Regions from separate parts of the Homo sapiens genome. Here all the other regions are linked to region 4. Evidence: promoter capture Hi-C in human tissues and cell types (Jung and others, 2019). All regions are on one chromosome and are shown on one strand. The core of a region is centred on a gene start or on the middle of the fragment in contact, and the rest is flanking DNA. Distances in the headings are between cores, read along the strand shown. Region 1 has its middle 98 kb from the start of LINC01907. Region 2 has its middle 42 kb from the start of LINC01907. Region 3 overlaps SP110 (SP110 nuclear body protein). Region 4 holds the start of SP100 (SP100 nuclear antigen). Region 5 has its middle 80 kb from the start of LINC01907. Region 6 overlaps SP110 (SP110 nuclear body protein). Region 7 has its middle 58 kb from the start of LINC01907.

Evidence for each region. The method cuts DNA at HindIII sites, captures the fragments that hold promoters and counts their contacts. A contact is called where the count stands out against the background at its distance.
Region 1: a fragment that was not itself captured here is called in contact with the fragment with the promoter of SP100 in region 4 in 1 of the 25 tissues and cell types used here (spleen).
Region 2: a contact is called between a fragment that was not itself captured here and the fragment with the promoter of SP100 in region 4, in 1 of the 25 tissues and cell types used here (ovary).
Region 3: a contact is called between a fragment that was not itself captured here and the fragment with the promoter of SP100 in region 4, in 1 of the 25 tissues and cell types used here (spleen).
Region 5: a contact is called between a fragment that was not itself captured here and the fragment with the promoter of SP100 in region 4, in 1 of the 25 tissues and cell types used here (spleen).
Region 6: a contact is called between a fragment that was not itself captured here and the fragment with the promoter of SP100 in region 4, in 3 of the 25 tissues and cell types used here (heart left ventricle, lymphoblastoid cells and spleen).
Region 7: a contact is called between a fragment that was not itself captured here and the fragment with the promoter of SP100 in region 4, in 2 of the 25 tissues and cell types used here (IMR-90 fibroblasts and spleen).

The regions. Positions count from the first base shown.
Region 1 is chr2:230,601,151-230,604,047 of GRCh38, reverse strand. No RefSeq gene overlaps it. Among named protein-coding and RNA genes, the nearest start is that of LINC01907, 98 kb to the left of the region's middle. RefSeq lists a silencer at 1,259-1,338 and an enhancer at 1,479-1,608. The HindIII fragment of the contact is 4,784 bases long and covers 1-2,897 here.
Region 2 is chr2:230,657,388-230,660,141 of GRCh38, reverse strand. No RefSeq gene overlaps it. Among named protein-coding and RNA genes, the nearest start is that of LINC01907, 42 kb to the left of the region's middle. RefSeq lists enhancers at 1-68, 703-972, 1,303-1,352, 1,413-1,502 and a cis regulatory region at 390-1,518. The HindIII fragment of the contact is 6,649 bases long and covers 1-2,754 here.
Region 3 is chr2:230,190,619-230,193,498 of GRCh38, reverse strand. All of the region lies in intron 10 of SP110 (SP110 nuclear body protein), which reads left to right. It also overlaps a transcript of SP140 not described here. Among named protein-coding and RNA genes, the nearest start is that of SP110, 28 kb to the left of the region's middle. The HindIII fragment of the contact is 5,786 bases long and covers 1-2,880 here.
Region 4 is chr2:230,414,930-230,417,629 of GRCh38, reverse strand. SP100 (SP100 nuclear antigen) reads right to left here and starts at 1,429. Exons shown (of 29, transcript NM_001080391.2): 1 at 1,302-1,429; 2 at 1-39. The coding sequence starts at 1,333. RefSeq lists an enhancer at 1,263-1,782. The HindIII fragment of the contact is 8,532 bases long and covers 1-2,700 here.
Region 5 is chr2:230,619,216-230,621,915 of GRCh38, reverse strand. No RefSeq gene overlaps it. Among named protein-coding and RNA genes, the nearest start is that of LINC01907, 80 kb to the left of the region's middle. The HindIII fragment of the contact is 3,569 bases long and covers 1-2,700 here.
Region 6 is chr2:230,215,003-230,217,702 of GRCh38, reverse strand. SP110 (SP110 nuclear body protein) reads left to right here. Exons shown (of 19, transcript NM_080424.4): 2 at 775-922; 3 at 2,585-2,700. The coding sequence starts at 776. It also overlaps a transcript of SP140 not described here. Among named protein-coding and RNA genes, the nearest start is that of SP110, 3.6 kb to the left of the region's middle. RefSeq lists an enhancer at 931-1,080. The HindIII fragment of the contact is 6,158 bases long and covers 1-2,700 here.
Region 7 is chr2:230,641,331-230,644,030 of GRCh38, reverse strand. No RefSeq gene overlaps it. Among named protein-coding and RNA genes, the nearest start is that of LINC01907, 58 kb to the left of the region's middle. The HindIII fragment of the contact is 3,162 bases long and covers 1-2,700 here.

The sequences.
Region 1 (2,897 bases), core at 214-2,713, 190 kb before region 4:
GGCTCCACCTATTCCGAACTTCCCAGTGGCTTTGTTTACACTGTGAGGGAAAACCCACCTACTCAAGCCTTAGTAATGGTGGACGCCCCTCCTCCCACCAAGCTCAAGTGTCCCAGGTCAACTTCAGATGGCTGTGCTGCCAGCAAGAATTTCAAGCCAGTCAATCTTAGCTTGCTGGCCTCCATGGGGGTGGGATCTGCTGAGCTAGACCACTTGGCTCCCTGGCTTCAGCCCCCTTTCCAGAGGAGTGAATGGTTCTGTCTCACTGGCATTCCAGGCGCCACTGGGTTATGGAAAGACAAACTCCTGCAGCTAGCTCGGTGTCTGCCCAAATGGCTGCTCAGTTTTGTGCTTGAAACCCAGGGCCCTTGTGGTGTAGGCACCTGAGGGAATCTCCTGGTCTGCAGGTTGCAAAGACCATGGGAAAAGTGTAGTATCTGGGCTGGAGTGCACTGTTTCTCATGGCACAGTCCCTCATGTCTTCCCTTGGCTAGGGGAGGGAGTTTCCTGACCTCTTGGGTGTTGAAGTGACACCCCACCCTGCTTTGGCTCACCCTCTGTGGGCTGCACCCACTGTCTAACCAGTCCCAATGAGATGAGCCAGGTACCTCAGTTGGAAATGCAGAAATTACCTGCCTTCCATGTTGATCTTGCTGGGAGCTGCAGACTGGAACTGTTCCTATTTGGCCATTTTGCCAGCCACCCCCACCTAATCCCTATTTTTAATTTTTTGAGGAAACTTCACACTGTTTTACGGAATGGCAGCACCAATTTACATTCCTACCAACAACATATATGTGTTTTCTCTACATCCTTGCCAAGACCTGTTACCTTTTCACCTTTTGATGCTAGCCATCTAACAGGTGTGAGATGGTATCTCACTGTGGTTTTGATTTTCATTTCCCCGAAACTCCCTGGGAGGGGATTGGGGATCTGTCTTTAGGCAGACAGGGGGAGTTCAGGGAAAACGTCTCTCTGCCTTTGGTCTTTCTCAAGTGTCTTCAGCTCAAAGTGATCGGCACACCAAAGCAGCATATTTTGGGGTGGCATTTCCTGAGCTCTTTCAACGGGCTCAGGGCAGTGGCTTTTCCCTAACTGGGTTAAAAGCGTGTTAATGCTTCAGTACTGTGTAGGGCTTTAGTGTAGCACCCTAGCTGGACATCAGCCCCACCAGGTATGGGTGGGGTTCTGGGAAAGGGCCTGGGCTCTCAGGTGGCTGCACTTGTGATAGCAGCTGACTTCCTGTAAGTGCACTGGTGCAGGAAGTGAGCCCTGCTTCCTGTCTGTGTTGCTGGGGGTGGGTGGGGGTGTGGGGGCGGGGAACAGAGGGGAAGCCAGGCCCTTGAACTTGAACTTTTGTCATGCAGGCACTGCAGCTGGGGGTTGGTGGCCTCCTGGAGGGTGCCTGAAAGGGACTCTGGCAGTGCAGCTCCTTCCTCGGGGCAAGAACCCTGAGCTGGGGCAGTGATTTCCCTCCCCTTGATTTCCTCACTTTTGTTTTGTTTTCTCTTTTTTTTTTGAGACGGAGTTTTGCTCTTGTCACCCAGGCTGGAGTGCAGTGGCATGATCTTGGCTCACTGCAACCTCCGCCTCCCGGGTTCAAGTGATTTTCCTGCTTCAGTTGCCCAAGTAGCTGGGATAACAGGTGTGCACCACCACGCCTGGCTAGTTTTTGTATTTTTAGTAGAGATGGGGTTTCACCATGTTGGTCAGGCTGGTCTTGAACTCCTGACCTCAAGTGATCCACTAGCCTTGGCCTCCCAAAGTGCTGGGGTTACAGGTGTGAGCCACTGTGCCTGGCCTCATATTCTCTTAAACCATTAAATTGGACGGGTGCGGTGGCTCACGCCTGTAATCCCAGCACTTTGGGAGGCCGAGTCAGGTGGATCACTTGAGGTCAGGAGTTTGAGACCAGCCTGGCCAACATGGTGAAACCTCCATCTCTCCTAAAATACAAAAATTAGCCGGACATGGTGGCGGGGCCTGTAATCCCAGCTACTGGGAAGGCGGAGGCAGGAGAATCGCTTGAACCCGGGAGGTGGAGGTTGCAGTGAGCCAAGATCATGTCACTGCACTCCAGCCTGGGACACAGAGTGAGACTCGGTCTCAAAAAACAAAAAACAAAAACCCCCAAACCCCCCAAACTATTAAGTTTTGCAGCCAAACCTCATTCGTCCTGGGTGTGGCTGAATCCAGGGAGGAGGGGAAAGCTCCATTATGCGGGCTTCAGGCCCACACCTGTGCCACTGTTTTGCCGTCACCTGAAACCAGCAGAAAAAGCAGCTCAACTGTGGCTCTGAGAAACTTCTGATATTGGTCATGACATTCATTCTCTACAAAATCCCACTCTCAACTAAGCTGAGCCTCCCTGCCCCCGCCAATTTATTTTTCTGTCCCCAGTTATGCTCAGCGCTATTGTCTGTCCCCACGCTCCAGAGAGCAGCATGTGATAGCTTAGTTGGACTAATTAACACGAAGCTCCACATTCAAATAACATGAGTCCTCTCCCATTATCATTATTATTATTATTTATTGTAGCAAAGTATACATAATAGTTATCATTTCATTGTTAATATATATGACTATTTAGCATTATCAATTTCTCATTTAGTCATTTGTAAGTGTGCAATTCAGTGGTATTAAATACATTCACAATACATTCGTGTAAACGTCACCACTATTTCCAAAACTTTTTTGTCATTCCCAATGTAAACTCTCTACCCGTTATACAAATAACACCACATTCCTTCCCCCTCCTCCCATCCCCTGGTGACCTCGATTCTATTCTCTGTTTCTATGAATTTGCTTATTCTAGGTACCTCAGATCAGTGGAATCACACATTTGTCCTTCCATGTCTGGCTACTTTCACTTAGCCCAGTGTTTTCAAGGTCCATCT
Region 2 (2,754 bases), core at 122-2,621, 240 kb before region 4:
AGCACTTTGGGAGGCCGAGGAGGGTGGATCACGAGGTCACAAGATCGAGACCAGTCTGACCAACATGGTGAAACCCTGTCTCTGCTAAAAATACAAAAAAATTAGCTGGGCACAGTGGCACGTGCCTGTAATCGCAGCTACTCGGGTGGCTGAGGCAGGAGAATTGCTTGAACCTGGGAAGCGGAGGTTGCAGTGAGCTGAGATCACGCCACTGCACTCCAGCCTGGTGACGGAGCAAGACTCCGTCTCAAAAAAAAAAGAAGTAGAGTAATTGTGCCCAGGAGCCCAATCCATGTCTGTTAGGAGCCTGCTTCCTGCCACCGGTCCCTGGGTGGCACACTGGAAGGTGCTTGGCATAGAACGAGGGCAGTGGTGTGTCAGCAGGCCGGGCACAGAGGCAGATGGACTGGGGGCCTTGTTGAGAAGCCAGAGGCCATGTCGAGGCTGCACAAGGCCGTGACTGCCTGCTTGAGTCTGGGGAAGCTGCAGGGCTCCTGTTCCAGGTGCCCACCAGCCACTGCGCCAGGGGAAATGCCTCTGAGAGCACATCAGGGGCTTCTCAAGCTGCAGCCACAGGGGCTGGGCTTGGCACAGAGTGACGGAGGAGGGGGCTGTTCCTGCAGGTTTTGGTAAGGCGCTGCCTCCTAACCACAGCTGATCCTATGTATGGGCTGATGTCTAGGCTCTTCTTTAGAAAAATTAGCATAACTGTCTTCCCTTCCACCCCTCCGCACCCCACGACCTGCAATCCCTCTGAGCCCTTATCTTCACTTATCAGACACCCAACACTCTTCTTCTCATTTTCTGAATGACTCCACAGTTCTAGAAATTAAAGCCTGCTGTATTCTGAGAAGGTGCTTTCTGTTTCCTCTGGTGAGTGGGCAGCACATACTTTGAGACTCCGCAGGGCAGAATTAGAGGGCCCAGGTACTGAAATTGACTCACTAGGTGGGGGTGGGGAGCACTGAGACCATCTTGAGTGCTTGGAGAAAAGTTGGACAGTCAGGTGGCACAGGGGCAACCGTGGGGTCTGGAAGGGGAGCACCGGGGGATGACTGAGGGGATGGAGGAGAGTGGTAGAGGAGAGACTGGAAACCAGGGAGGGCATGGGCAGCCCTGGGAAGACTGCAGAGGTTGAAGATGTGGAGGACACACCAGGCTGGGCGGAGCGGTGCTTAGCAGGCACTAGTGAGGCAGGTTATCAAAGCAGGGACTATCCCAGGGATGTGGTCACCATGATTGTGGTCGAGGGGCCTGAAGGCATAGCTGAGCCTGCCTGGGCTCAGGCAGAGTGAAGATACAGGCCCTGCCTGCTCCTGCTCCTGCTCCTGCTCTAGAGACTGTTCCAGGGATCACCAGAGGCCTGGCAGGAAGCTGGTGGCTCATGTGCAGGTCAGGCAGGGCCAGAGGCAGGCGGATGGGGCACTTTCTTTGGGAAGAGCTTGAAGAGGGCATTGCTGATGCCTCCACCCCAGGCTGTGATGAGCACTGTACCCAGTGGGGGGCTGGTGGCTGGAGGAGGGAGTATGTCCAGGAAAGGATTTCTGCAGGGCATCTAGCCATCCTGTCACTGCAGGGCTGTGATGGAAACCTGTGGACACATGACCACTGAGGGGACTGCTGCACCAGTTTATTTGTTTATTTTATTTACTTATTTTTATTGTTTTTGAGACAGAGTCTCGCTCTGTCGCCCAGGCTGGAGTGCAGTGGTGTGATCTCAGCTTACTGCAACCTCCGCCTCCTGGGTTAAAGCAATTCTCCTGCCTCAGCCTCCCGAGTAACTGGGACTATAGGTGCATGTTGCCACACCTGGCTAATTTTTTGTATTTTAGTAGAGACGGGGTTTCACCATGTTGCCCAGGCTGGTCTCGAACCCCTGAGCTCAGGCAATCGGCCTGCCTCGGTGCCTCAAAGTGCTAGGATTACAAGCTTGAGACATTGTGCCCGGCCTGTTGCCCCAGTTTAGGACTCAGACAGAGGCTACTGTTCCTCCAGGGACCAGGGGAGCCCCATACCACTGAAGGGCTGGTTTCTTCCCTTCATGAAGCTTTTCCTTCCGGCCACCCACGGGGACCCTGACATGTGCAGGGCACCTCAGGAGAGAAAGGCAGAGCTCCGTCTTCAACTCAACACAGAAGAAAAACCCGCATTTTTCAAAGCAGCGAAGACTCAGATGGGAGCATCAGGAGGAGAGGCCATCCTGGTGGTCTGGGGCTGTGGAGCCAGGCTCTGAGGACTCAGTGGGCCACTGACTTGGGGTGAGGAGAGCAAGGGCTAGCCAGGCAGAGCCACAATAAAAATGATGACAGCTAATGGTAATTAGGGGTTGAAATTTGTACCTCCTTCGCTATGAGCATAAAGTGAGATGCTCCGAGACAGTGCGCAGGCCTGGCACCTGAGCGCACCTGCAGTTGTAGCTGTGATTATTACTACTCAGGCAGCCACAGCAAACTGAGCACTGTGCCCTGTACCCTGGGTGCCCTTTCTGACTTTCCCTGCCCCCTCACCGCCCGGTCCTTCAGCGCTGGGACCCTGTGTGACAGCGCGGCAGCCCTACACCTGTGTGGCTTGTCATGGATTCTGCCACACCACACAGTGGATTAGGATGCCTTGTTCCTTCACGTTAGCTGTGCCGTTTCTACCAGGAGACAATTAGCGAAGTAAGTGCTGTTCTGTGGTACCAGGAGAGGGTTGGGGACGACGGGCTCCCCAAAACACGGGGGCTCTGCTGAGGCCTTTGGAGAGATGTCTTCG
Region 3 (2,880 bases), core at 122-2,621, 220 kb after region 4:
AGATTGATATGCACCAGAATACAAACTCTTGAAAGCATAAAACTCACAAGGTCTATAAAACAATAACACAATGAAGAAAACAACGTATGTAGGTAACAATTAACATGATGACTGAAACAGTACCTCACATCTTGATATTAATGTTCAACATAAATGGGCCTAAATGCTCCACTTAAAAGATACAGATTGGCAGAATGGATACAAAATCACAAACCAAATATCTGCTATCTTCAAGAGACTCACTTAACACACAAGGACCCATATAAATTCAAGGTATAAGGGTGAAAAAAGATATTCCATGCAAATGGAAACCAAAAGTAAACAGGAGTAGCTTTTCTCATATCAGATAAAACAGACTTTAAAGCAACAACAGTAAAAAAAGGCAAAGAAGGTCATTATATAATGATAAAAGGATCAATCTAACAGGAAGATATTACAGTCCTAAATTTAGATGTAGCTAACACTGGAGCTCCCAGATTCATAAGACATTTACTACTAGACCTAAGAAAAGAGATAAGACAACAACACAATAATAGTGGGGAACTTCAGTATTCCACTGTCAGCACCAGAGAGATCATTGAGACAGAAAGTCAAAAAAGAAACAATAGATGTAAACTACACTCTAGAACAAATGGACCTAATAGATATTTACAGAAGATTACATTCTTCTCATCAGCACATGGAACATTCTCCAAGATAGACCATATGATAGCCACAAAACAAGTCTCAATAAATTTTTATAAATTGAAATTATAGTTTGATGGGAATAACATTGAATCTATAAATTACTTTGGGCAGTATGGCCATTTCCAAGATATTGATTCTTCTTATCCATGAAGATGGAATGTTTTTCCATTTGTGTCCTCTCTTATTTCCTTGAGGAGTGGTTTGTAGTTCTCCTTGAAGAGGTCCTTCCCATCCTCTGTTAGCTGTATTCCTAGGTATTTTATTCTCTTTGTAGTGATTGTGAATGGTAGTTCATCATGATTTGGCTCTCTGCTTGCCTATTGTTGGTGTAAAGGCATACTTGTGATTTTTGCACATTGATTTTGTATCCTGAGACTTTGTTGAAGTTGCTTATCAGTTCGAGAAGTTTTTGGGCTGAGATGATGGGGTTTTCTAAGTATATAATCATGTCATCTGCAAACAGAAACAACTTGACTTCCTCTCTTCCTATTTGAATACGCTTTATTTCTTTCTCTTGCCTGATTGTGCTGGCCAGAACTTCTAATACTATGTTGAATAGGAATGGTGAGAGAGGGCATCCTTGTCTTGTACTGGTTTTCAAAGGGAATGCTTCCAGCTTTTGCCCATTTTATATGATATTGGCTGTGGGTTTGTCATAAATAGCTCTTATTATTTTGAGATATGTTCCATCAATACCTAGTTTATTGAGAGTTTTTAACATGAAGGGATGTAGAATTTTATCAAAGGCCTTTTCTGCATCTATCAAGATAATCATGTGGTTTTTGTCTTGGTTCTGTTTATGTGATGGATTATGCTTATTGATTTGTGTATGTTGAACCAACCTTGCATCTCAGAGATGAAACCGACTTGATCATGGTGAATAAGTTTTTTGATGTGCTGCTGGATTTGGCTTGCCATTATTTTATTGAGGATTTTCGTATTGATGTTCATCAGGGATATTGGCCTGAAATTTTCTTTTTTTTTGTTGTGTCTCTTCCCAGTTTTGGTATCAGGATGATGCTGGCTTCATAAAATGAGTTAAGGAGGAGTTCCCTCCTTTTCAATTGTTTGGAATAGTTTCAGAAGTAATGGTACCAGCTCCTCTTTGTATTTCTGGTAGAATCAGCTGTGAATCCATCTGGTCCTGGGTTTTGTGTTGTTGGTAGGCTATTAATTACTGCCTCAATTTCAGAGCTTGTTATTGGTCTATTCAGGGATTCAACTTCTTCCTGGTTTAGTCTTGATAGGGTGTATGTGTCCAGGAATTTATCCATTTCTTCTAGATTTTCTAGTTCATTTGTGTAGAGGTGTTTATAGTATTCTCTGATGGTAGTTTGTATTTCTGTGGGATCAGTGATGATATTCCCCCTTATCATTTTTATTCTGTCTATTTGATTCTTCTCTCTCTTCTTTATTAATATGGCTAGTGATCTATTTTGTTAATTTTTTCAAAAAACCAGCTCCTGGATTCATTGATTTTTTGAGGGTTTTTTGTGTCTCTATCTCCTTCAATTTTTCTCTGATCTTACTTATTTCTTGTCTTCTGCTAGCTTTTGGATTAGCTTGCTCTTGCCTCTCTAGCTCTTTTAATTGTGATGTTAGGGTGTCCATTTGAGATCTTTCTAGCTTCCTGATGTGGGCATTTAGTGCTACAAGTTTTCCTCTTAACACTGCTTTAGCTGTGTCCCAGAGATTCTGGTATATTGTCTCTACATTCTTCACAGAATTAGAAAAAAAAACTATTTTAAATTTCATATGGAATCGAAGAAGATCCCATATAGCTAGGACAATCCTAAGCAAAAAGGATAAAACGGGATGCATCCCACTACCTGACTTTGAACAATACGACAAGGCTACAGTAACCAAAACAGCACGGTACTGGTACCAAAACAGACATATAGACCATGGAGCAGAACAGAGACCTCAGAAATAACACGACACATCTACAACCATCTGTTCTTCAACAAACCTGACAAAAACAAGCAATGGCAAAAGGATTCCCCATTTAATAAATGGTGCCAGGAAAACTGGCTATCCATATGCAGAAAACTGAAACTGGACCCCTTCCTCACATCTTATACAAAAAATAACTGAAGATGGATTAAAGACTTAAATGTAAAACCCAAAACCATAAAAACCCTAGAAGAAAACTGAAGCAATATCATTCAAGACATAGGCATGGGCAAAGTCTTC
Region 4 (2,700 bases), core at 180-2,679:
ATCTCATTTGCTACTGGTGAAATACATTCATTCAGCCTCCTAGAAAGACAATTTGGCAGGACCAAGTAAATAACTGGACCCTTTGCCTCAATAATTACATTTTTAAGGTTTAGAGACAAGATAAATATTTGTTTAGATGTAAAAACCCAAAAAGAAATATATAATCATTGTTATGATAGCTTATTGGTAAATGTGAACAATTTAAAAACAATCTAAATGTCCTTCAATTGGAGAATAAATAATTATCATATATCAATTCTATGGAATAGCATGTATAAAAAGAATGAGGCAGATCTATATGTATTAAGGTTAAAAGATCTCTAAGTTTTCCACTATTAAAATAAGTAAAAATGCAAAATGCAGACTAGCACATGTAATATAATTTATTATAAATCAAGAACATAAATTACGTATTTACAAAAAATGCATTAGATATATAAATGCATAGAAAAATATAAGAAAAGCTGTGCCCAAGACTCTTCACAGGACTGGGAAGAGAAGCTACAAGAATGGCTGAGTGGCAAAGATGACTTTTTCCTTAATATACTTCTCCACTGTTTTAAATTTTATGAACAATAATGTACAGTGTATTTCTTTTGTATTAAAAAATTTAAAAGATTAAGTAATGTTATTTCTCAACTCACTACTAGAGAAAAGTTAGGATTTCCTTCTCTTTTCTGGTCAGAGGTATCCCCCATCTTGGGACAGGAAATTGAGGTAAAAATGAAAATATTTAGCCGTTTGTCACCCTGGGCCTTTTTCTTCCCTTTCCTTCTTTTGATCAAGGTTGATGGAATAAGAACTCAGACCCTGAGCCAGTCATGGGAACAGCCGGCAGAGGCCCCTTGCCAGGACAGGTGAGACCACAGCGTCTGATGTTTAAAAGTAAGCCAGGTGTTTACCCTGGAGTGTTTATTTTCTAAAGCACCTTTTTTGACATGACATATTTGAAGGTAGAGGAAGGCTGAGGGGTGAAAGGGTTCACAGATCATGAGGAAATAGTTAATCCCAGCCACCAACAACTGCTATGTTTAGAGTGTCCCGGTCAGCTGAGCAGTAAATCCAAAACAAGAAAGTCACGTGTGTTATGGCAAGTTGAACTCACACCAACAGCTGTCCTGCTCCTGTTTAAAAAATCTGATTTCCTCATTACTTGTCTTTCATTTCATTATATAACATCGCATACCTATGTTCTTGCAAAGAAGGATTAAAGTGAAGCCTTAGGCACAAACTGAACTAAAGGCATGAAAGCTGCAATATAGCCAGAGATAAAGGTTAAAGGAAGGGAGATAAAGACTCACCTGGTGCTCAGGTCGCCGCCCCCACCTGCCATCTTCCCACCCTAGGCCCTGCGTGGGCCTCAGAGCCTGGCCTCTGAGCCCCTCAGTCGGCCCAGCCTGCGTGCAGTGTGGCTGCCCAGGCCCCAAGCAGGAAGTCGGCCGACAGACTGACTCAGAAAGGGCTCCGCCCAAATGGGGAAAAGAGAAGTGAAAGTATTTAACCTCCTTCTGGGCTACGGACACTGTGTTTCTCCTCCTTTTTCACTCCAAGGGATTCTCAGCTTTTCTGAAATGTGGCAGAGGGTTGGAGGAGAGGCCTGACAAGCAGCAAGACCTGCAGGACCAGGGAAGGAGGGCCCAGGGGACGAGCAGGGCCAGCTCCCGGGTGTCCACTTGTTTGTGCAATACACAGCCAAAAAAAATGTCCTTGAAACAAAATTGTCCTTAGCTGCTCTGCCCTCTAAGAGGGGGCATAGTTTACATGGGAGTTGGGGGGGAAACTCCATGTTTGCCCCTTCCCCTTGCTGACATGGCTTGGGGTGGGAGTTGGAGGGTTGGAGGGAAAGCCAGAAACCTCAAATCTTCTCTCAGGCCCATGGGAGAGCATGGACTGGACTAAGGTAGGTCCTGACATTGGGACCCAGGGCTGGAGAGAACCAAAATGCTCAGCATTATAACCTGGGGAGAGTGTGCTTAGCCTTCCTGGAAATCAGCCAGAAGTAAGAGAGAACTCTCCACACCCCTGGGACCAGAGGCTGGAGCCAGCATGGTAAGAAAGGCAAACATTTTAAGGGGCAAGGGTTTAAGGAATCTTGACTATGGGGCCGCCTTGGAACAGCCAGGGGTGAAGAGACACCTAAGCTTCGGAGAAGTCACTGGAATCTTGAGAGAACAAAAGCTTCTCATTGGAGGAGGATGGAGGTTGGAACCCAGATGATCTAGACATGGAAGGGCAGGGTGGCTCCCGCGGGAGGTTCTATCTCTGCCCAGATTTTCCATTTAGATTCTGATTCATCATTCCTCAGAGAACAAGAAGCGACCGAGAAGACTCGCTTTACATCAGTATAAAGTCATAGGTAAAGAAACAGAAGCAAAGGGCGCATGAGAATGGGGCCACAGGACACAACCAGGGACCAGAACTCCAGGCCGGACCATGGGGCAGAGACAGGGAGGCAGCTGGGAGCCTGGGGGCGCTGGAATCCAGGGCCCAAGGTGAGCAGAGGGTGGAAGCTGGTGAGGATTCAGGGGCCAGAGGGGATGGCACTTCAGAACGGTGTTTTCCAAATGGCATTCTACTGAATCCAACTTCTTCCAGCTGTGAATAAGGATGCTTGTCCAGGTACATTTGAAAATGTGGGGGAAGGGGCTTTCTACCCTCACTCTACTTCTGCTCTTCTTTTCCCCATGAGTGAATGACCAG
Region 5 (2,700 bases), core at 177-2,676, 200 kb before region 4:
CTGCTTGGTCCAGAGCTGAGTTCAAGTCCTGGATATCCTTGTTAACTTTCTGTTTCATTGATCTGTCTAATATAGACAGTGGGGTGTTAAAGTCTCCCATTATTATTGTGTGGGAGTCTAAGTCTCTTTGTAGGTCTCTACGGACTTACTTTATGAATCTGGGTGCTCCTGTATTGGGTGCATATATAGTTAGGATACTTAGCTCTTCTTGTTGAATTGATCCCTTTACCATTATGTAGTGGCCTTCTTTGTCTCTTTTGATCTTTGTTTTGGTTATGGTTAAAGTCTGTTTTATCAGAGACTAGGATTGCAAACCCTGCTTTTCTTTTTGCTTTCCATTTGCTTGGTAGATCTTCCACCATCCCTTTATTAGAGCCTATGTGTGTCTCTGCATGTGAGATGGGTCTCCTGAATACAGCACACCGATGGGTCTTGACTCTTTATCCACTTTGCCAGTCTGTGTCTCTTAATTGGGACATTTAGCCCAATTTACATTTAAGGCTAATATTGTTATGTTTGAATTTGATCCTGTCATTATGATGTTAGCTGGTTATTTTGCCCGTTAATTGATGCAGTTTCTTCATAGCGTCGATAGTCTTTACCATTTGTCATGTTTTTGCAGTGGCTGGTACTGGTTGTTGCCTTCCATGTTTAGTGCTTTCTTCAGAAGCTCTTGTAAGGCAGGCCTGGTGGTGACAAAATCTCTCAGCATTTGCTTGTCTGTAAAGGATTTTATTTCTCCTTTGCTTATGAAGCTTAGTTTGGCTGGATATGAGATTCTGGTTTGAAAATTGTTTTTTTTTTTTTTTAAGAATGTTGAATATTGGCCCCCACTGTCTTTTGGCTTGTAGGGTTTCAGCCGAGAGATCCACTCTTAGTCTGATGGGCTTCCCTTTGTGGGTAACCCAGCCTTTCTCTCTGGCTGCCCTTAACTTTTTTTCCTTCATTTCAACCTTGGTGAATCTGACAATTATGTGTCTCGGGGTTGCTCTTCTGGAGGAGTATCTTTGTGGTGTTCTCTGTATTTCCTGAATTTGAATGTTGGCCTGCCTTGCTAGGTTAGGGAAGTTCTCCTGGATAATATCCTGAAGAGTGTTTTTTAACTTGGTTCCCTTCTCCCTGTCACTTTCCAGTACAGTAATCAAATGTATATTTGGTCTTTTCACATAGTCTCATATTTCTTGGAGGCTTTATTCGTTTGTCTTCACTCATTTTTCTCTAATCTTGTCTTCTTGCTTTATTTCATTAATTTGATCTTCAATCACTGATATCCTTTCTTCCATTTGATCGAATCAGCTATTGAAGCTTGTGCATGCATCACGAAGTTCTCGTGCCATGGTTTTCAGCTCCATCAGGTCATTTAAGGTATTCTCTAGTATTTATTCTAGTTAGCCATTCATCTAACCTTTTTTCAAGGTTTTTAGCTTCCTTGCAATGGGTTAGAACACGCTCCTTTAGCTTGGAGAAGTTTGTTATTACTGACCTTCTAAAGCCTACTTCTGTCAACTCTTCAAAATCATTCCCTGTCCAGTTTTGTTCCCTTGCTAGCGAGGAGCTGCGATCCTTTGGAGGAGAAGAGGCGCTCTGTTTTTTGGAATTTTTAGCTTTTTTGCTCTGGTTTCTCCCCATCTTTGTGGTTTTATCTACCTTTGGTCTTTGATGTTGGTGACCTACAGATGGGGTTTTGGTGTGCATGTCCTTTGTGTTGATGTTGATGCTATTTTTTTCATTTGTTAGTTTTCCTTCTAACAATCAGACCCCTCAGCTGCAGGTGTGTTGGAGTTTGCTGGAGGTCCACTCCAGGCCCTGTTTGCCTGGGTATCACCAGCAGAGGCTGCAGAACAGCAAATATTGCTGCCTGATCCTTCCTCTGGAAGCTTTGTCCCAGAGGGGCACCCGCCTGTTTGAGGTGTCTGTTGGCCCCTACTGGGAGGTGTTCCCCAGTCAGGCTACATGGGGGTCAGGGACCTAACTGAGGAGGTAGTCTGTCTGTTCTTGGTGTTCAAATGCCATGCTGTGAGAACCACTGCTTTCTTCAGAGCTGTCACACAGGGACATTTAAGCCTGCAGAAGCTGTCTGCTGCCTTTTGTTCTATTATGCCATGCCCCCGGAGGTGGAATCTATAGAGGCAGTAGGCCTTGCTGAGCTGAGGTGGGCTCCGCCCGGTTCATGTTTCCAGGCCTCTTTGTTTATACTGTGAGCTAGTCAAGCCTCAGCAATGACGGACTCCCCTCCGCTCGTCCAGCTACAGCATCGCAGGTTGATCTCACACTGTTGTGCTAGCAGTGAGCAAGGCTCTGTTGGCATGGGACCCGCTGAGCCAGGCATGGGAGGGTATCTGCTGGTTTGCCAGTTGCTAGGACTGTGGGCATAGTGCAGTATTTGGTCAGAAGTATACCATTTCTCCAGGTACAGTCTGTCATATGGCTTCCCTTGGCTAGGAAGGAGAAATCCCCCAACCCCTTGCACTTCCCAGGTGAGGCGACACCCTGCCCTGCATCAGCTCACCCTCCATGGGCTGTATCCACTGTCCAACCAGTCCCAGTGAGATGAACCAGGTACCTCAGTTGGAAATGCAGACATCAACCGTCTTCTGCATTGATCTCGCTAGGGGCTGCAGACTGGAGCTGTTGCTATTTGGCCATCTTGGAAGTGACCTTCTCTTCTCTTCTCTTCTCTTCTCTTCTCTTCTCTTCTCT
Region 6 (2,700 bases), core at 173-2,672, 200 kb after region 4:
CCAGCTCTTCCACTCTCTAGTTGTGCAACCCTGGGGCAAGTTATTAAACATTTCTGTGTCTCAGTTCCTCAACAGTATAAACAGGTGCAGTCATAGGAACCACCTCGCAAGGGTTTTATGAAAATCAGATAAGTTACTGCATATGAAACCCTTAGAACAAAGTCTGGCACACAGGAAACACTCCATAAATATTAGCTACTTTTAATACCTTCCTTATGTTTACCTGCAGCGCCTTGGGATTCTGTCATTATATTTTCAGTCACTCTCAGCCTCCATTGTTGCTGGGAATTGTCCTTGTTTCCTATACCCATGAGCCTTTTAGGCAGACATTGCTTTGCAGGCTACTAAGGATGCCTTTGGGACCAGAATGCTTACCTTTAGATCTGCCCATTTAATGCAGAGAGAAGCTTCCCACATTCCTCAAGGTTTTGCTTCTATTTTTTTTTTTTTTTTTTTTGAGATGGAGTCTCACTCTGTCACCCAGGCTGGAGTGCAGTGGCACAATCTTGGCTTACTGCAACCTCCACCTCCCCGGTTCAAGCAATTTTCCCGCCTCAGCCTCCCAAGTAGCTGGGACTACAGGCGTGCGCCACCACACCCAGCTAATTTTTGTATTTTTAGTAGAGACAGAGTTTCACCATGTTGGCCAGGATGGTCTCAATCTCTTGACCTCAGGTGATCCACCCACCTCGGCCTCCCAAAGTGCCGGGATTACAGGCATGAGCCACCGCGCCCAGCCTTTGCTTCTATTTTTTATCATGCCTCTTTCCATAGGATGTTCACCATGACAAGAGCCATGGAAGAGGCTCTTTTTCAGCACTTCATGCACCAGAAGCTGGGGATCGCCTATGCCATACACAAGCCATTTCCCTTCTTTGAAGGCCTCCTAGACAACTCCATCATCACTAAGAGAATGTACATGGTGAGTCATGTTGAACCCTTCCATGGCAGCCCAGCCCCCACCAATATGCCTGATTATTAAAGTCTCAAACCACAAACCACCAGGGCTTCCAGAGTTTGGAAGGCCCAGCCCAGGCATGTTCATTATCACAGAAGGTGGGGGTAGTTAGGAGAGAGGGTGTCATAGGGGCTATGTTGGTTTCTAGGGTGTCATAAGGACTGCTGTAACAATGACTACAAACCAGGTAGCTTAAAACAACAGAAATATATTCTCTCAGGTGTGGAGGCCAGAAGTCCAAAATCAAGGTGTTGACAGGGTTGGTTCCTTCTAGAGGCCCTGAGGAGAATCCGATAGCTGCCTATCTCCTAGCTTCTGGTAGCTGTTGGAAATCCTTAGTGTTCCTTGCCTTGTAGATGCATCACTCTGATATGTTTTCATCTCTACATCACCTCTCTTTTGAGTCTTCTACCTAATCTTCTGAGGACACTTGGATTTAGGGTCACCCTAATCAAAGATGATTTTATCTCAAGATCCTTAACTTAATTACAACTGCAAAGACACTTTTTCCAAATAAGTTCACATTCACAGATTCTAGATGGATATATCTTGGCTGAGATATATCCATCCAACATTCAACTCACTACAGGCATCATCCCAATTTATAACAGCTAATATTGCTCACAGTGCATTCTGATGTGAGACAGGCAGGCACTGGGAGATATGCTATGTGGACAAAAGTGGACCTATTTTTATATAATTTTGGTTTTTAAAAGCATTAATTGAGCCCTAGACTCAAGGAAGTGCCAATAATCTTCCCTTAGTCTTAGTCTGGTTGGCCCCAACTCCCTCTTCAGATCACAGCCCAGAGAGCACTCCTCAGAGACATCTCCTTGGCCAACTCATCTCATGAAGACCCCTTAGTTATTCAGTTCCATAGCAATCTATGCTTTCCCTCCGTAACACTACTCTCAATTGTAAATGGGTATTTATTTGTGTTTATTAATGCTCATCTTCTCCACTTGACAGTGCCTACCCTGACCCCCAAATATAGGCAACTCCATGTTGGTCTTATTCAGTGCTGTGTACCCAAAGACTCGCTGACCGAGCCTAGTAGATGTTCAATAATTATTTGCAATCAGTTCTCTCTTGCCGTATTTCTCCTTTTGTCCATCCTCTAGGCAAGGAAAATTCTCAGGGTGACTTCTCTGTGGCTGGAATCCATTCAGGCTTATCTCAAGTTTGAGAGACACAGAGAGAGACTGAGCAGAGGCTCACAAGCAACCAGCAGAATTGCCTCTGTGACCATCACTAGAACCATTGCTGAAGTATCCTGCCCACAGCTTTAAAGAATCAATTACATAGTAGCATCCTTTAACCCCACTTTCCTTCCTTCAAATTTCTCTCGTCTCAAATGTGCCTGAAAGTTGGATTCAGAATATAGACTTACTTTAAGAAAGCTAAATTATTTATTTTTGTTGCTAGTCATCCAAATATGTGTAAAGTTTCAAAAATAAGCATGTAAAACTGTGACCGCTCTACCTTAGAGAATGTGACTATATATTTTATGTTGAATTTCTTCTTAAAAGAGTAAGGTAGCTTTCTTAAAACTTAGAAAACCATAAATGTATAACTTCCCATTCAATTTTATAGTCATTTATAAAAACCTTCACTCCATTTTTATAGGAATCTCTGGAAGCCTGTAGAAATTTGATCCCTGTATCCAGAGTGGTGCACAACATTCTCACCCAACTGGAGAGGACTTTTAACCTGTCTCTTCTGGTGACATTGTTCAGTCAAAT
Region 7 (2,700 bases), core at 71-2,570, 230 kb before region 4:
GAAACTTGATTATGAGTAAAATAATTGAGTGATTGGTTTATTGGATAGACAAGTGACAGGAAACATCCCACCCCCGCTCCCGTGTCCCCTGCCCTCCTGCCCACTCAAACCTGCTGTTTGACATCATCTTGTCTATTTCTGCTGTCTTGGTTTGGGTGTCCCTGGAAACAGACCCTGAGACGTGAACTGGGTATAAATAGTGAGGAAGTAAGATAGGAAAGGGAATGGGCCATTAAAGAGTGAGTTTTCAGACCAGAGGTCACAGCATTATCCCGACTGAGGGGCAGGAAGCTGTGGTACTTACCCAATGACTTCCTGTCCCTCCTTGGTTGAAGACTACTTCCAGGCACTTGACCACTCCAGCACTTCCTGTTTGCCTTGCTCAAGCGTTGAGCACCCTCCCTGGCCAGATAAAAGCTGTTGGGCAGAGGCTCGGGTATTGGCAATACAAGGCCTTCCTGCGTAGGTTGAATGCCCGGGATGTGGGCACAACAGTGCTCACTAGACCTGGTTAAAATCTGGGGATGGCCCACAGTTTTTCCAGGACCTTTTAGTTATAAGAACAGACTCCTTTTAATAATTAAAAAAAGTCTTATCTCTTCTAATATTCAATATTTTATCCTACTAACGCCCTCTACCCTGCTTCAGCTGGGGCCTGTCTTAGTCCAGGAACTGTGGGGAGTGGTCTGATCGCTTTTCTGACTCTCAACCTCTGGTCTCCTTCGCCACCTGTTCTTTTGGTCTCTGCAGGACTAGAGTGGGCAGGGGAAGAGAGGTGAGGGGCAGGAAGGGCTTTGGTTGACCTGCTCTGTTGTAATTTTAAGTGGGAACTCCAGGGAACTGGATGACACCTCCTGCTGCCCAATTGATCACCAATGCAGGGTCCCTGCTTTCTGGTTCATTCCCCTGCTTTACTTGCAGCAAGTTCTCCTGGGCAGAGTCTCTCTCAAGGAGACCTGGCCCAGCTCCTTTCAGCGAGCCCATCTCTGGCCTCTGGGAGATGCACATCCATCCTTGTCCCACCAGGCTCTGGAAGTGCAGGCCCTTTCCACCACCGTCATGTCTCTTCCTGTATTTGCCAAGCAGGGTGAGTTCCAGCCATGGCCTCCAGGCTATAGATTCTTTGGGTGTGGCTTCAGTCCCGAGTCCTTCGTGTCTATCTCTCCAAGGGATTCCTTATTTTTTAATTTTTAAATTTATTTTTATTTTTTGAGATGGAGTCTCGCTCTGTAGCCCAGGCTGGAGTGCAATGGCGTGATCTTGGCTCACTGCAACCTCTACCTCCCGGGTTCAAGTGATTCTCCTGCCTCAGCCTTCCAAGTAGCTGGGATTACAGGCGTGTGCCACCATGCACAGCTGATTTTGTATTTTTAGTAGAGATGGGGTTGCATCATGTTGGTTAGGCTGGTCTCGAACTCCTGACCTCAGGTGATCCACTCGCCTCAGCCTCCTAAAGTGCTGGGATTACAGGCACGAGCCCCTGCAGCCAGCCTCCAGTGGATTCTTTTAAAGCCCCTCACTTGGCTTGAGATGGTACAATCTGCCCTGTGTTGCCAGCTTGTCAGCTGGGAAGCTTTGGGCTGCAAGAATGCCAGATCTCAGTTAAACTGGTTTAACTATAAAGCCTTTGACTGTAAGACATTCAATGTTTCAGGGCAGACTGATCTTGCGGTTTTAAGACATCTCCCATGACCCAGGACCTTTGAGTCTCTCTGCTCTGTTGCCCACCCTGTTGGCTGCATCTGAAGATGGCTGTTGCCAGATGTAATCCAAGCCTTATGCTTTCTGGTTCATGTCTAGTGGCTCACATCCTTCTCGAGGAGCCCTCTGTCCCACTATTCTAAGAGAGAGTGCTGAGAGCCACTCCGATCGGCCCAGTTAAAGATGTGTCCACCTCCAAACCAACGACTTATGGAGGATAAAATAAAAAATGCTGATTGGCTAAGCCATCTCAATGGTTTCCTGTATGCAGAAGGGGTAAACGTACAAACGAAAATTTGGGTATTGTTAGGAAGAGGGGAATGGATGCTGAGTAGACAACTGCATTAGTTTCCTGGGGCTGCCGTAACAAAGTACAGTCATGCATCGCCTAACAACGGATACGTTCTGAGAAATGCATCATGAGATTTCATCATTGTGTGAACATCATAGGTTGTATTTACACTAATCTAGATGGTGTAGCCTACTGCTGGTACCTAGCACACCTAGGCTACATGGTGTAGCCTACTGCTCCCACGCTATGAACCTGGACAGCATGTTACTGTATTGAATACTGCAGGCAATTGTAGCACAATGGTATTTTGTATATCTGTTTTCTTTTGTTTCTTTCTTTTTTTTTTTTTTAGACGGAGTCTCGCTCTGTTGCCCATGCTGTAGGGCAGTGGCGCTACCTCGGCTCACTGCAACCTCCGCCTCCCAGGTTCAAGAGATTCTCCTGCCTCAGTCTCCCGAGTAGCTGGGACTATAGGCATGCACCACCACGCCCAGCTAATTTTTGTGTTTTTAGTAGAGATAGGGTGTCACTGTGTTGGCCAGGATGGTCGTGATCTCTTGACCTCATGATCTGCCCACCTTGGCCTCCCAAAGTGCTGGGATTACAGGGGTGAGCCACCACGCCCGGCCCAATTTTTATTTTTATAGCCTATTTTTACTGTAATTTTCTATGTTTAGATATACAAAATACCACCGGGTGTGGTGGCT